2 separate regions of the Homo sapiens genome follow, and region 1 is linked to region 2. The links are contacts of gene promoters, found by promoter capture Hi-C in human tissues and cell types (Jung and others, 2019). All regions are on one chromosome and are shown on one strand. Each heading gives the region's core, a stretch centred on a gene start or on the middle of the fragment in contact. The rest is flanking DNA. Distances are from core to core; before and after follow the strand shown. Region 1 overlaps BTBD9 (BTB domain containing 9). Region 2 holds the start of RNF8 (ring finger protein 8).

Region 1 (3,679 bases), core at 571-3,070, 1.1 Mb after region 2:
TTCATCTATGAAATGAAGATAATTGTTCCCATCTCATGGGAATGTGGTGAGGATTCATTGTAATGATGCAAATGAAATAACTAAGCCTGACTGCCTGAAACTCACACGGGAGATCTTCAAAGAATGTTAGTTCTCTTCTCCATCTATTCTTACCAACAAAAGAATGCAGAAGACCTATTTTCACCAGAAGGAGGACTGGAACCAGAGTTAGCAGGTATGGAGTCACATGGGTGAATCAATAAAACCCACTCAAAATTTCATCTATGAAAAACCTGTCCTTCTTTATTATACATTAGAAGACCCAAAGATGGTTCTGGAAGCAAACACACTGAATTCTGGAAAGGGGAGGAAAAGGAACAGAATTGGCATTTGTTATGTGCTTCATGTGCTACTGGTTGCACCCAGCTTTTCTATACATAATCGTATTACTTAAGGCACCACAGAACTCTATACAGCAGTTAGAACTGTGATGGAACCAGTGAGGCTGGCTTCCTCTTATCCAAGTATGACTGGAGGACAGGGCTCAAATGACCGTGCAGGTGCATCTGGGCGGGGGGGCGGGGGTATAACAATGAAGAGGAGGTGCAATAACAGCCCCGTGGGGATGATGACAGACAGAATATGCTCATGAATAAGAATGTCTTACTTATCCCATCTTAATTACTTTCTTCTGTCTCTTTCTTCATGTTTAAGTATTAAGAGCAGTGAGGTGGTAAGAAATGGTATGGGAGTCATATCAGAATCCTTTGGAGAGAAGAGATGGGCACATGTGTCATCTAAAAAAGCATTTTCAAAATTATAATAAAATACACAACATTTGCAAAGCAGGCTTTCTGCCCGTTGTGACCGTGAAAACAAAGCAGCTGAAGAGGCCTGATGTGAAAGTGACCTCCTCTGTGCTCTGTCACTGGCAAGAACAGGAAAAACACTTGGGGCAAGCAAGCCAGCCCCACTTTCACACATGACTCACACGACTGAAGGAAAGAAAGGGCATCCTTCTCAGGCTGTCACTGCCTTCTTTTATTACAATTCTTACTTTTTATAATATTTTAAATAATATTAAAGGAGATGTAAGATTTGTAAGTTTATCAAAGAGACATGAGTTTTTAAATGTTGAGAAACACATTTTTCTAAAGATGCAAATCAGCCAGGCGCAGTGGTTCACACCTGTAACCATAGTACTTTGGGAGGCTGAGGTGAGAGGGCTGCTTGAGCCCAGGAGTTCAAGACCAGCCTGAGTAACACAGGGAGACTCTGTCACTACAAAAAAAAAATTAAATTAAATTAGCTGGGCACGGTGGCACACACATGTAGTCCCAACCACTCAGGAGGCTGGGGCAGGAGGACTGCTTTAGCCCAGGAGGTTGAGGCTGCAGCAGGACATGATCACACCACTGCACTGCACTGCAGCCTGGGTGACAGAGCAAGACCCTGTCTCTTAAAAAAAAAAAAAAAAAGAGAGAGAGAGATGGAAATCAGCTTCAGGAAAATGAGAGGGTAAAGGGAAAAAGGACTCAATGGACAATTTTAAAAATTCGGGCTTTTGGCTAATGGTCATTCCAATTAAAATGCAAATGAATGAGGCTTCTAGCTTTTGCCAGCTTGCCAAGTACCCTATGACTTACTAGTGGCAACAGCCATCATGCCTTCCCTTGCTACGTTAGTGTCTAAAACAATGCCCTAAAAGCTTAAGAGAGCTGGTGGCAGACAGCAAAGTAGCCAGGGCCTAGCCACATGCTCTCACCAAGATCCACCCTGAAGGTGAAAACTTTCAAGCAGGGAAGCAAAGGTACCAGCATGCCCCCTTATCAACATGGGAAATACCTTTTTCTCAAAAGACAAATGCCACAATACAGAACTATGACCATCTAGCAAGCAAATGACAGATGGGTCTAGACACATAAGGTAAAGGACAAAATTGGTTTTGGTGACTCTCTGAATATTCATGGAATCTATAAAAGTCCAATTCTTTTAGGATGCAGTCTGTTAGAAATGAATATGCAACTGTACCAAATAAAAACAGTGTATTTCTCAAAATGCACACAGGGAGGGGACTTTTCCCACCTCCCACTGCTGTCACAGGCAGTTGCTGTATACGATCTAGTATTATCTGAACTGTATATTGATTTGTGATTTATATTCTCTAATGTAGGTCCCAAGGATACACTTTTTTTCCCCAAACTGTACTTCCTCTGGAATTTCACACATCACAAAAGATGCAACATTCAGTAAGATGTTTCCTAACCATAGCATTAGAACGGGCTAGCTCTTCAAAATGATCAGGTTTCCCGGACCCTACACATGGCAGCAGTATGGAGTCCCTTTTTGCAAATTTACCAGTTCATGATATGGAAAGAAAGAGAACGAGAAAGGCAGTGAAGGGGAGGAAAGGAGAGAGCAGAAAAGATGAAAGGGAGGAAAAGAAAACTGAGAAGAATAAAGTATTCAGCAAGAAGGAACTGATGTCAAAAAGGATGACTACTTACAACTAGACCTATTAACAATAAAAACCATTGTATGGTAGAGGATTTCCAAACCTTGTTGCTACAAAACTCCAACTACTGAGCAACCATTACAGCAAGCAAAGGCTTCAGAGCTGGCTATTCTCTCAAGTCCCAGGCAGAACCGAAGGTATTATTTTAAGTCTTAATTAAGCAAGCTAGGCTACAGTCAAACTGCAAGCAACCCACTGAGGTAGCAACAGCTAGGTTTATAGAAAGAGGTATTTAATAAGAATAATGTGTGTTAGGCATGCTGAAAAATGGATTTAAGGCTGAGATGCCCCTTGGTCTCAATACTGTTATGTTTGAATCTTGTTGGCTTTATGGAAACAATAACTATAAAGTGTCTTTCACATTAATAAGAATTTCCAGCACAACCAACATCCAAGTGATTCCCAACAAATTATCAGACACAGAAATCTGATCATTTACAAAAGTGGTTTACTGTACAAATTCAGCTGCCTGACGCACCTGTCTATAATATCTAAAACCAAATCCAACCTATCCCAGTTTTTCCACAACTAGGTTGTTCCAGGACTGGTGAGGTATCAAGGATGAGTCACAACACCAGAGCTGGACTCTGCCATCCACACTCCATGTTCATGGGCAAGAGAATGCTAAGCATATTTCTTCACAGACTGTACTAAACAGTTCTACATCACATAAGCTAAATTTCTTTCATTATTTAGAGACACATATATTTCAAAATTTGTATGGTTCTATCTTTTTCTATCTAGTACTAAAAAAAAAAAAAAAAAACAAGGCAAGAAGTAACCCAGAAAAGGATGTAAGAGGAATACTAGCTTTTAAATGCCTTGGCTCAGAAGTGTCCTGTATCCCTTCCACTCATAGCTCGTTGGCCTGGGCAAGTCACAAAGCCCAAATCCAATAGCAACAAAGGCTGGGCAACATAAGGGGACACATGAAACCTGTGGTGAGCACCACTATTTCTACACACCATCCAATTTCAAAATTATTTGATTCTAAAACCCAAGAAGCCCCGGACCACTCCTCCTGTAAGCGTCACTATCCACACCAAGGATGTGTGTACCCTCTACTTTGGTAACCCCCCACGCCCCACCCCAGTTGATACTGAGGCAGACCTCAGTTCTGTGTTGATTTTCTCACAAAATTACATTCAAAACAAATGGAGCCCTAAAGATATAAATTCCACAGAA
Region 2 (3,691 bases), core at 1,071-3,570:
TAATAACTGGCTAATTTTTCTTTTTTCTTTCTGTTTGCAAAGGACAAATAAAGTATGTAGGGTGCTTCGCCTAGTACCTGGCACTTAGCACTCAGTAAATGTTAGCTATTTACTATTGTACACTGTGTAATTCATTTAGTGTATGTATTTTCTTTTCTTGTTGTTTTGTTTGTGTATTTGTTTTTGAGACAGAGTGTTGCTCAGTCACCCAGGCTAGAGTACAGTGGTGTGATCTCAGCTCACTGCAACTTCTGCCTCCCAGGCTCAAGGGATCCTCCCACCTCAGCCTCCCTGGTAGCTGGGATTACAGGTGCTCACCACCATGCCCAGATCATTTTTGTATTTTTACTAGAGACAGGGTTTCACCATGTTGGCCAGGCTGGTCTGGAACCCCTGACCTCAGGTGATCCACCTGCCTCGGCCTCCCAAAGTGCTGGGATTACAGGCGTGAGCCGCCACACTTGGCTGTGTGTGTGTTTTTTGTTTTTGTTTTTGTTTTTTTTGTTGTTGTTGTTTTGATGGAGTTTCACTCTTGTTGTCCAGGCTGGAGTGCAATGGCGAGATCTCGGCTCACCGCCACCTCTGCCTCCTGGGTTCAAGCGAGTCTCCTGGCTCAGCCTCCTGAGTGGCTGGGATTACAGGCACACGCCACCACGCTGGGCTAACTTTGTATTTTTAGTAGAGACGGTGTTTCTCCATGTTGGTCAGGCTGGTCTTGAACTCCCAACCTTAGGTGATCCGCCTGCCTCGGCCTCTCAAAAGTGCTGAGATTACAGGCATGAGCCACCATGCCCAGCCCGGCTGGTTTTTTGACAGAATTTTATTTAGGAAAATTGTTTTCCTTCTTTCCCCTTGTGCAAAAAAAAAAAAAAAAGAGAGGAAGAAGGGAGGAAGGAAGGAAGGAAGGAGAGAAAGAAAGAGAGAGAAAGAAGAAAAGAGAAAGAAAAAAGAAAAGAAAGAAAGAGAAGGAAGGAAGGAAAGAAAGAAGAAAGAAATTGTTAACTGGGTGTTGGAAAACTGAAAAGACAAAAGGGGCTCAACCATTGGATGTACTCACTGCAGGCAGCAGCTATCACACTATATGGAAAATCCAAAGGAGAGGCTGAGTTTAAAAACAATTTTTTAATTGGCCGGGCTCGGGGGCTCATGCTTGTAATCTCAGCACTTTGGGAGGCTGAGGCGGTTGGATCACTTGAATCCAGGAGACACGGCGAAACCCGGTATCTACCAAAAAATATAAAAATTAGCCGGGCGTGGTGGCGCGTGCCTGTAATCCCAGCTACTCTGGAGGCTGAGGCAGGAGAATCTCTTGAACCCGGGAGGCGGAGGTTGCAGTGAGCTGAGATCGCACCACTCCAGGCTGCACTCCAGCCTGGGTGACAGGGCGAGACCCTGTCTGTAATCAGTAATAATAATAATAAAATTAACAGCTTTATTGAGTATAATTTACATGCCATAAAATTCACCCACTGGAAGTTTACACTTTCTTCACTTTACAGGGTCTCACTCTGTCGCCCAGGCTGGGATGCAGTGGCGCCATGTCGGCTCACTGCAACCTCTGCCTCCCGGGGTCAGGTGATCCTCCCACCTCAGCCTCCCAAGTAGCCGGACTACAGGTGTGCACCACCACACCTAGCTAATTTTTCTTTTTTTTCTTTTTTCCTTTCTCTCCCTCCCTTCCTCCTTTTTTTTTTTTTTTTTTTGTAGATACGGTGTCTCCCCATGTGGCCAGGTTGGTCACAACTCCTGAACTCAAGTGATCCGCGCGTCTCGACCTCCCAAAGTGCTGGGATTACAGGCGTGAGCCACTGCGTCCGGCCACACTTCCATGACTTTTTAATAAACTTATACAGTTGTACAATTGTCACCACAATCCACTTTTAGAACATTTCTATTACCGCTTTCCTCCAATTTTTTCAAGCCCATCTGCATTCAATACCCGCTCCCACACCTCGCCCCAGGTAACTGTGCTCTTTGTCTTTGTAGATTTGCCTAGTGTAATTTATTTTTTACTTCGGTAATATAAGTAGGTCGTGCAAAATAGAGACTATTTAGCAACAGACTAGGCAGACTTAAATCCGATGGAAAGTTTAAAGTTGTTTAAAAGTGGGCTATAGTTTCACATGACTTTTTTAAAAAGAGGAAAGGTGAGAAGAGGTTCCAGTCTGGGGCGGCTAGGACTGGGGTGATGGTTCTGGAGGCGGCGAGGGAAGGTGTGAGGCGAGGAGACCTCTCGAATCGCGCCCGCCCCGCCCAGGGCCGGATTGGCTCCCAACCCACCCTCTTTGCTCCAGGGCGGCCGCCGTCCTCTTGCGCAGGCGTAGTGCTCCTGCTTCCTGGCCGAGGGCGGGCGAGCGGAGCCTGCTTTCGCAGCGATCGCGAGCGTGTGGCGATTGCTTCTGTCTGTTATTTAGATATGGAAGCTGAGGGGATGCACAGAGGCAGCCAGAACCTAGGTCAGGGTCTCGCTCGGTGCTGACCGCCCCCGGGGTCGAGTAGGCGATGGGGGAGCCCGGCTTCTTCGTCACAGGAGACCGCGCCGGTGGCCGGAGCTGGTGCCTGCGGCGGGTGGGGATGAGCGCCGGGTGGCTGCTGCTGGAAGATGGGTGCGAGGTACGGGGGAAGGGGTCCTGTGGAGCGGAGGGCAGGGGCTGGAGGGAGCGGGGCTCCGGGGAGGGAGGAAGGTGTCTTGCTGGGCTGAATGAATGGCAGAGAGGAGGCGGGCATCAGGAAGAGGAGCGAAGTGTCTGTGGGGGGGGTGGATTCCTGGGGAGAGAAGGGAGAAAGCGGTTCTGGCGCGAGCGGCTGAAGGGTCTGCGGTGGGAGGTGTTTGGGGGAGAAATAGGGGCCGAGTGGGAGAAAGGAAGAAAAGAGAGTTCGGCTCTGGGGAGCCCGGGGGGGCCACAAGGGTTGGGGCGAGGACGGAGGCCCTGACCCGCGGCCTGTGGGGCGAGAAGCGGGCCCCGTCCAGAGAGGCCTGGGTCAGCGGGTAGCTGGGCCGGGGACTGGGAGGAGAGGGACGCGCAGGGAACGTGAGGAGATGCGGGGGTGTCGAGGAGGGGAGGGCGGGGGCTGGCCAGATCCCGTTTAGGGCGCACAGAGCCCCGCGGTGCCAGGTCGGGGAACGGTGGCGGGGGCCGCGAGCTGCCGGGAAGCCGAGGCAGGGCCCGGCGCCTGAACTTTCTCGAGTTTGTTTTGAAAACGATTGCAAATTTTGGGTTTTGTCCCTTAAAGCAATCAAACTTTCACGTAGAAATGTCTTCCTCCTTCCCAACTCTGAGGAACATGGGCGGCTTGGGCTGGGCCACATTTCTCCTGTGAGGCTCGGTACGGCCGAGTGGCACTCCCTGAGGTGGGTCGGGCAGGTATTCAGAGTTCTCTCCAGAGGCTGCCTGTCGTCTTTATTAATGCAGTTGCAAATGAAAAATATTTTAAGGGGAAAGATGAGGTACCGTTCCTGGCACGGTTCAAGATGCACCAGCGTGGTGCATCTTGAAAAGACGAGGGAAGGGAGGAGGGAGTTAGATTGCAATCAGGTTGAGAAGGAGAACTGGGTCAGGGACAAGCTTGTGATGACTGGGAACCATTTGGGTTTTGGAAATAATCTGTATGAAAAGTTCTCTTTGCAGTAAAAGTGGATGGTTGGTCATGATGTAAATTCAAGAAGTATTTTGAGTCTCATGTGTGTTCA

Evidence for each region. Contacts are between HindIII fragments. The study calls those that stand out against the background at their distance.
Region 1: a fragment that was not itself captured here is called in contact with the fragment with the promoter of RNF8 in region 2 in 1 of the 25 tissues and cell types used here (dorsolateral prefrontal cortex).

Annotation. Positions count from the first base shown.
Region 1 is chr6:38,495,216-38,498,894 of GRCh38, forward strand. The region is part of intron 6 of BTBD9 (BTB domain containing 9); the gene reads right to left. Among named protein-coding and RNA genes, the nearest start is that of BTBD9-AS1, 15 kb to the left of the region's middle. The HindIII fragment of the contact is 5,265 bases long and covers 1-3,679 here.
Region 2 is chr6:37,351,663-37,355,353 of GRCh38, forward strand. It overlaps RNF8 (ring finger protein 8), which reads left to right and starts at 2,321. Exons shown (of 8, transcript NM_003958.4): 1 at 2,321-2,613. The coding sequence starts at 2,503. RefSeq lists a silencer at 2,174-2,273 and an enhancer at 2,574-2,623. The HindIII fragment of the contact is 14,582 bases long and covers 1-3,691 here.